3 separate regions of the Homo sapiens genome follow, and regions 1 and 2 are each linked to region 3. The links are contacts of gene promoters, found by promoter capture Hi-C in blood cells and fetal thymus (Javierre and others, 2016). All regions are on one chromosome and are shown on one strand. Each heading gives the region's core, a stretch centred on a gene start or on the middle of the fragment in contact. The rest is flanking DNA. Distances are from core to core; before and after follow the strand shown. Region 1 holds the start of YTHDF3 (YTH N6-methyladenosine RNA binding protein F3). Region 2 has its middle 6.2 kb from the start of UBXN2B. Region 3 holds the start of RAB2A (RAB2A, member RAS oncogene family).

Region 1 (2,700 bases), core at 119-2,618, 2.7 Mb before region 3:
AATAGCTTTGCAAAGTGCCACCTCCCCACAGATCTAGGATAAAATAATTTATGCTAGGCAATAATGACCACAATTTCACAATCTCCAAGTCTACATAGTTCCTAATGGGTAGACTAGCAAAAGAAGAAATTAATGGATCATTCTTTTTAAAATTCACAAATTTTTAAAAACTCATTTAAAATAAATCAATATCCAATTTTTATTTCAGGTTTATGCTTACAACAAAAAAAATTCTAGAAATGAAATTTTAAAAATTAAAATGTCTAAATATTTACATACTGCAAGAAAACATCTTTAATGAAAACAAACAAAATGTTACCTAATATGGTGCCATGTAACTGGTATGTACAAATTCCATAATTCAGAGGAAACTAATCTACATATCCAAAACCTATTAAATTCACCAAATTTGCAATAGCAAATAAATACCCTAACAAGAATTTAAAGGGCACCAAAGACAATCTATATCTAAAAGGCTATTATAGATCTTAATTTCTAACACTGTGTTACTGAAATCAACAGAAAGCATAATTTTAGTGTAATTTCAAGCACTACAAAATGTTATATATAATTTGCTCTGATGTTATTTAATTGGCACTATCCCAAGAAAGCAGTTATTGTTCTATACTTAACTAAATGTCACATGACTAATGTCATAATGTTTCAGTCAGCTGACTGCACTGTTCCATATTAATACAAAACACACTTTTTAAAAAAACACTTTACTTTCAATGGTACTTTTACTAAAGAGAAAATTATAAAATCCTGGAAAAAATGTCACAAACTATTTTCTTCTCAGCCCTTTATAAAATACCAGATAGAGTCACACCTTGCAATCAGAACAATAGAGCAAGATGGCATGCCTACTCAGTTCTAACCTCTCTCATGTTGTTGCCTCATTACAACTGACTTCAATAGAATCAGTGATTAACAGTACAATTTTCATTAATGTGATGGAATACTATGTAGACTTCCATTTTCCAGTGTAATCCAGACATGTCAAACAAAATGTCCACTTTAAGAATATACTTGTCTATATACACATGTAGAAATTTTTTGTGGCATAAGTTACATAACACAGAAAAACTGGAAAACCAAAGAAATACCACCAGGTTCACACCAATACCTGCTTAACTGACAAGGAAACTGTTTCTCGTACTACTTTGGTTTCTATAAAGTGGCTTCAAAGCAACGAACTACCGAAGTTCTGGATAGAACTTGGCTACCTTAGCCATGATGAATATTTTCCCTAATCCTACATTTTTTCCCAAGAGGGAGCAAAAACAAACAAAATACCCTCACAGAGTTTAAAAGTAACATTAAGGCAACATTGAGCAATAAGAAAAAAAAAAATCCAAACTCACCTTTATTTCCTTGCCCTTTAGGTCTCTGTGTTGCAAGACGAAAGATGCGGTAAAGAGGAGAAAAAGGAAGAAAAGAAAAAGTGTGTTAATCAAAGGCATTATCAAAGACAAGTTATTTTAGACTATCCGCGTAGGAGTAAAAACCCACCATATCCTCCACAGCCACCAATTTCCCAACCACCCCCAGCCTTTAAACCTCCCACCCGCCACTCGGAATCCGTCTCCCAGAGCTCGCCCGGTCTCCGCCCCATGTCTGCCGCCCTCAGGATCTGTCCTAAGGCCCCTAAGACCGGTCCTTGCCCCCACCCGCCGCGGCACCGCGCCCGCCCGCCCGCAAGCTACGGGGCCAGGGCGCACGCCCCGGCCCGGGTAGCTACACCGCAGCAACTTGCGCCCGGGGCACCGTTATGGGGCCGGCAGCGGCGGCGACGGGGAGGAGCCGAAGCCCCGCGCGAGGGTGGAGCTCCGGGGCTCGGGCCTTCGCCAAGCCTGGGGCCTCTGCTCCCTCACCTGATCCACGCTAGTGGCTGACATTCTTCACCGCAACCCGAGAGCCGCCGCCGCCGCCGCTGCCTGGGCCTCTCCCCGTGCACTCACAGCAGTTGGCTGTCGCCCTTGGCCGAGTGATTGTTCCAGCCGCCGCCGCTGCCGCCGTTCGCTGAGAACCCAAAATGAGGGCCTCGCGCTCGGGAGTCGGAGGAAGAGGCCCGTCTTTTCCGCTTGCACGCTCCTCTTCCCCCTCTCGCTCTCTGCTTCTCGGGTCCACAATGGCGGACAGACTCCCTAGTCTCACTTCCGCTCCGAGCCTCCCTGACCTTCCGCTCTCCACTCTGACGTCCGCGCTCACCTCGCTCTTCCTCCCCCACCCTCCCGCCGCTGATCTTGGCTCCGCCTCCTCACCGCCACGTCACCGGAGACCGGACCCGCGCTCACGGCCGGTGGGCGCATGCGTCATGGAGGGAGCGCGTCGGGGCGTCAGCGAGCGCCAACTTTCAGCGTCTTTTCTGCGGCTTCCTTCTATCCCGCTCCGAGGCTGCAGGGCCCTGGCAGAGTGGCGTCAGCTGGAAGGCTGGCCAGAGCCGGATTTTGTTGCACTCCGGGCAGGAAGATGGCCGAGGCGGCGGCTGACGGAGATAGTAGTGCCTTGCTGAAGTCACGGCGGCCGGCGGCGCCCTCCTGGAGGCTGACGGGACGGAGGCAGGGAACTTCCCGGTGAGCCAGCCGGGCCTAGCAGGAGCCTTCGGCGGCTGCCCAAAGCCGTGGGGACGGCTGGCTGACTCAGCCGCTCTCTGGACGGAGTTGCTGGGTCCCCACAAGCCTGCCCGTGCAGCTGAAG
Region 2 (2,700 bases), core at 197-2,696, 2.1 Mb after region 3:
AAAAACTCATGCAATAAATATTCAAATCTCTAATTTCCTAGTTATTTGAATACATTTTGCTATTATCTATGCTCCTGAGGGGATTTACATCTATTGGATCTATATGGTGGAGATGCTATTGCACACCTCTTCCCAATTCGCATTCAGTGACAACATGTTAGTAGCTTGAAATCTACCATGGTGTAAGTATTCCCACCTCAGAAATTGGTAAACGCCATAAATAAAAGTTCGATTTCTTGTTTTGTTGATTGCCCACTGGAGATTTAAGGATCTGTTGGAGAAAATGTTTACGAGGCAGATAAGACTTAAAAGTATGCTGTGCCTGCAGCTGTTATGCTGTGAATAGCAAAAGAAAAAAAATGTAAATTTTCCTCTAGTATTTGAAAATTACTAGCTGATTCCGGAAGAAGTTGCTCACGTTGTTGAGTTACTATGGGTGTTTGTGTTTCACTTGCATCTTATGTGTATCTTGTTAATGTGAACAAAAATATCAACAAACATTCAAGTGGTCGCCTTGAAGTCTCCTTTCTTTTGGCTTGTGATGAAAGTGATATCTTTCCCCATTCTTCTTCAAAGAACTACGACCACATACCTCACTCTCCTTGATTCTCTATTTTCTGTTCTCAAAGTGGGTGAGGAGGTTCAAGAATCATGACATTCATCGTCTTTGAAACATTCTCCAGGAGCATCTTTCTCACACCCATTTTGACCTATCATATATATTATGGGGTCCTTAAACTGGAAACTTAATGTTAAACATTTTATTATACTTATTTTCTCCTTCCATTAGACTAAGCTCATGGAGTATGTGGGCCAGGACTTCATCTCTAGTGCCTTAACACAGAACCTGGAACCATAATATGTACTTTTAATAACTATTTGCATGAGTGAGTGAATGAAGGTGGTAGGGATCCTGTATTGGTCTGTTCTTGTGCTGCTATAAAGAAATATCCGAGACTGGATAATTTATAAAGAAAAGGGGCTAAATGGCTCATTGTTCTGCAGGCTATAGAGGTAGCAGAACAGCTTCTGCTTGGCTTCTAGAGGCCTCAGGAAAGTTATAATCATGGCAGAAGGCAAAGGGGAAGAGAAGCAGGTACATCTTACATGTCTGGAGCAGGAGGAAGTGTGGGGAGGTGCCACACACTTTTAAACAAACAGATCTTGTGAGAACTCTATCACAAGAACAGCACTGGGGGGATAGTGCTAAACCATTAGAAGCAGCCCCTGTTATCCAATCACCTCCCACCAGGGCCCACCTCTAGCACAGGAGATTACATTTCAACCTGAGATTTGGGTGGGGGCACAGATCCAAACCATATCAGATCCATAACTCAAACCACATTTGACTATCTCCAAAGCCCATTTTCCATTCATGGAAAGTCAAGAAATAAGAAGATCTATCAACAGATATCTTCATTAGATACAGACAGGACAGACAGTATAAAATGCAGGCCTATTTATATTGCACTTCTAAACCAAATCCAGCTCCAACTTCACAACCTAAATGAAACTCACGTTTGTGTAATTTTACATATGCTGGACATCACTGAGAACAAGATCAGAGGTCACTGTAATATATAATGGCCTTGTTCCATCCTTTAAAACATTTTTATCTCATTCTAAAAATAGAAATAGAATATTTACAGTTGGTAATTTTCATGGATTGCACATTATTTCATGTAATCTACAACAACTTTCTGGGATAGGTATTGTCTCCATCTTACAGAAGTAGTTGAGGATCAGAGAAATAAGATGAATTTCCTTATGTCACTCAGCTATTAAGTAGCAGAACTAAATTTTAAATTCAGGTCCATTACACTCAAAAGCATATGTTTTTTTTTTTGTTTGTGTTTTTGGTTAAAAAATACCATCTCCGTGTCTCCTGGGAGCTTTTTGCAGCCTCTGACTCTTGTGATTTTACCTTTCCTGAAATTTCCTCATGATACTGCTTAACATTGGTCTTCTTACCTACCTGACCATTCCTTTTGAGCTTCTCCTAACATTTTATCTTCTATCCACCCTCTAAATAATGATGTTCTTTAGGGCTCTGCCTTTGCCACTCTTATTTGCTCACTGTGTATATGCTTTCGCTGTTCAATATCTTCTGTTCTCATACCTACTATTTACACACAGTCAATTCTCATTATTTACAGTAGTTATGTTCCTTAAAGCCATTGAGAACACTGAGTTATTGAATACTGAATCATTGCTGCTAGGGAAAATACAGGGTAGGTTCCTGTGAACTTCTTACATTTTCATCAACTGATCAATGCATAACCTTGTTTTATGTCTATTTCTGTTGAAGACCCCATGTTTAATATGATCATTGATCCACTCACATTGAACTCACAGCCACCAGCACTATAACTCCTGCATGAAGGAAGTTTATCTAGCACATGCATTTTCTCCATAAGGACATCACAGCCTCTTGTACTTAGGAACACCAGACAGTACTTCAGCACTACCCTTGGGGGCCATCTCAAACAGCAAAATCACCAACAAAAAGCACAAACATGTGAAAAACATGGCACTAAATAGAATGTGCAAGGACACTTATTTAAAGTATAAAAGCTGAAATAAAAAGGCAGAATGTCACCTTGTTTGAGCTCAGCTGGGAATGTGCTCATGGGGCAACAGAAATATTTTGCTCCTTTGTGTCTGGGTTTGATCACAAAGCACTGCATGTATTTGGTTTGG
Region 3 (2,700 bases), core at 159-2,658:
GTGAGCCACCGCGTCCGGCCAACATGCTTCTTTAGTTACTTATAGAACCTGCCACATCATTAGTTCAACTACAAACTGCTGCTTACATGACCGAAGTTGTGCAAAGGGTCCAAAGTTGTGCAAGAGTAACCACTGAAATCAGACTCTGGTATATTAATAGTTGCAACATCTAAACAATCTTTATGTTTATTATTAGATTCAAAGTAATGCCAAATCACAGGTATTAAAAATATCTACGAAGAGTCTGTTTACTTTTCTGTGAAATATACTAGGACGTCATTTTAAGTGAGAATAACTGAATTTCTTTCAGCTCATGGACATGAGCTCACCTGAAAATTAGCAGTTGTGACACCGGACTTGACATATCTAAAACATCAGCGTCCTCAACATACACATACCTAAGTACACACCCAGAGCACTGAACGACTTTACATTACTATATAACCCCAGTTCACACGTGGCAAAAGTCCACAGAACTCGTTCATGCTTTCCTAACCCCGAAAGGGATTCTCCAGCCGTCAAGTAATGAGATGTGACTTATTCTGACGTGAGAGTTGAAGGTGTTAAAAAAGCATATTTTATATATATGTATATATATAAAATACATATTTTAAAGGTTTCCTTTTCTCTTTCTCGGCTGCCTGTCCCACGCCAAAAAGCGCCTTGCCCAGGCCTTGATAGATGCGTGCTGGTGGAGGAAGGTTGGACTGGTCAGGAACCAAGACCCGGGCCCCAACACCTTCTGCTCCCCTAGGTTTCCCTCCTTCTTTTTCCTGGGGCCGCGAAGAGACCTAACGCAAGGGGCCCTGGGGGTGGGGTGCAGTCATGTGAGTCGGGCCCCGGCGGCCCTGCGCTAGGCCTCCCCTCCTGTCACACACTTCCTGAATCGGGCGTCGCAAACGGCTGCCACGGCCCTCAGCTGCAAGACTGGCCGGGTCGGGGGCCGCAGACCGGGCCTGGCCAGGCCGCGGCCGCTCGCAGTGCCCACGTCACCAGCTCCAGCACTGCGGAAATGGAGCGGCGCGGCCAGGAGGGAGGCGCCGGGTGGAGTCCGCGTCCCCGCCACCGCCAGACGCCGTTTGCCCCTCAGCCCGGGTCCGGAGGCCGCCGACACCCGCCCGGCCGCGCCCGGGGCCCTCACCTGTGTCGCCGATTATGATGTACTTGAAGAGATAGGCGTACGCCATGGCCGCGGCCGCTCAGTGCCAGGGCACACGGCTCCTCCTCCCGCTGCTGCTCCTCCTCCGCGCCCCAACCCCGGTGCCGCTCAGCCTCGAAACGCCAGGCGCCGCCCGCCGCCGCCGCTGCTGCTGTCAGCCGCCGGGAGTGAGGGGCTGTGAGGAAGCCGGACGAACTGACACCCGCAGAGCCGAGGGAGACAGCGCCCGACCGAGCCCAGCCGAACAATAACAGCCGCCGCGGCGCCTCCGCCCCGCCTCCGCGCCGACCCGGAAGTTCTGCGGCCGCCGGCGCCGCCGGAGGAAAGGGGAGGAGCCCCGCACGCTGGCCCAGCCCTGCACGCTGGCCGCGCCCCGCCAGCCGGAGCCCCGCCCCGCCCCGCCCCGCGCCTGCCTTGCCCGGTCCGCCCTGTCTTCCAGCAGGGCGGGGCCCGGCTCCGGTTGTTCCGCCACGTTTGAGCGGGCGAGCCCGGCGGCCGGGAGACGCCAGGGAACGGGGCTGGTGGGGGTACAAAGGCTCGGTTCCGTCGCCTTCAGCCCTGCGGTGGGGGCACGGGGCAAGTGAGGGGACGGCAGAGGCGGCGTTCGGTGTGAGGCTGCGCCCTGGGCTCCTGAAAATGTGTGTGAAAATGTGGGAGGCACACGGCGAGGGGGTGGGGGTGGCCTGGTATTTCTGTGTTTGGCATCGGGGCTTGAAGGTGAAAATGGCAGTATTTATAAATTGGAAACCGTAAATCTGGGACTGCAAAGTAAATCATGGTATGCACGCACAGTGGAGTACTACGTTGCTCTCACCTGAGGTCAGGAGTTCGAGACCAGCCTGGCCAACATGGCGAAACCGCGTCTCTACTAAAAATACATTAGCCGGGCGTGGTGGTGCTCGCCTGTAATCCCAGCTACTCGGAGTCTAAGGCAGGAGAATCACTTGAACCTGGGAGGTGGAGGTTGTAGTGAGCCGAGATTGAACCACGGCACTCCAGACTGGGCGACAGAGCGGGACTCCGTCTCAAAATAATAATAGTAAATAAAAAATAAATAAAGTCTCTGAACCTGTCCTGGTTCTGAGGGCTGCTCTAAAAAAAAAAAAAAAAAAAAAGCCTGACTTAGGTTAAGCAAAACCGAGATGATCTGTTTATGTGTGTGTATATAACATGCACCATATGTAATATATGAATTGTATATAATTTTTATGTGTAACAAATAGTGGGAAAACATTTACATACCCATATATGCATAATCAATCTGAAAGGAAAGCTAACTGGTATTAAGAGAAAGGAGGGAATGGGATTGGGGGGAAAATGTACTTTTCCCTGAATTTTTTTGTGCAGTTTGACATTTTTTGCAGTGTTCATGAGTTACCTATTAGGAAATACTGTTAAAGGAAAAAACAAAATGACTGTGCATTCAAAGAATAGTTATTGAATACTATGTTTCATGTACCGCCAGGCACAGCAACTGGAGGCCCTGTATGTTCTATGTTCTGTTTTTCTACTTTGCTTTTTCAGTCATCCAGCCCAAAATG

Evidence for each region. Contacts are between HindIII fragments. The CHiCAGO score rates a contact against its expected background, and 5 or more counts as called.
Region 1: a contact is called between a fragment that was not itself captured here and the fragment with the promoter of RAB2A in region 3, in 11 of 17 cell types (non-activated CD4 T cells, naive CD4 T cells, naive CD8 T cells and 8 more). The highest score is 16.8, in non-activated CD4 T cells.
Region 2: a contact is called between a fragment that was not itself captured here and the fragment with the promoter of RAB2A in region 3, in 3 of 17 cell types (total CD8 T cells, non-activated CD4 T cells and total CD4 T cells). The highest score is 6.9, in total CD8 T cells.

What each region holds. Positions count from the first base shown.
Region 1 is chr8:63,168,076-63,170,775 of GRCh38, reverse strand. It overlaps YTHDF3 (YTH N6-methyladenosine RNA binding protein F3), which reads right to left and starts at 2,155. Exons shown (of 5, transcript NM_152758.6): 1 at 1,875-2,155; 2 at 1,365-1,389. The coding sequence starts at 1,898. YTHDF3-DT (YTHDF3 divergent transcript) reads left to right here and starts at 2,334. Exons shown (of 1, transcript NR_102684.1): 1 at 2,334-2,700. RefSeq lists a silencer at 1,553-1,792 and enhancers at 1,873-2,192, 2,393-2,612. The HindIII fragment of the contact is 4,463 bases long and covers 1-2,700 here.
Region 2 is chr8:58,403,809-58,406,508 of GRCh38, reverse strand. No RefSeq gene overlaps it. Among named protein-coding and RNA genes, the nearest start is that of UBXN2B, 6.2 kb to the left of the region's middle. The HindIII fragment of the contact is 3,704 bases long and covers 1-2,700 here.
Region 3 is chr8:60,515,695-60,518,394 of GRCh38, reverse strand. RAB2A (RAB2A, member RAS oncogene family) reads right to left here and starts at 1,408. Exons shown (of 8, transcript NM_002865.3): 1 at 1,142-1,408. The coding sequence starts at 1,187. LOC124901949 (a long non-coding RNA gene) reads right to left here. Exons shown (of 3, transcript XR_007060922.1): 3 at 1,597-2,700. RefSeq lists enhancers at 1-164, 1,400-2,260 and a silencer at 955-1,824. The HindIII fragment of the contact is 4,226 bases long and covers 1-2,700 here.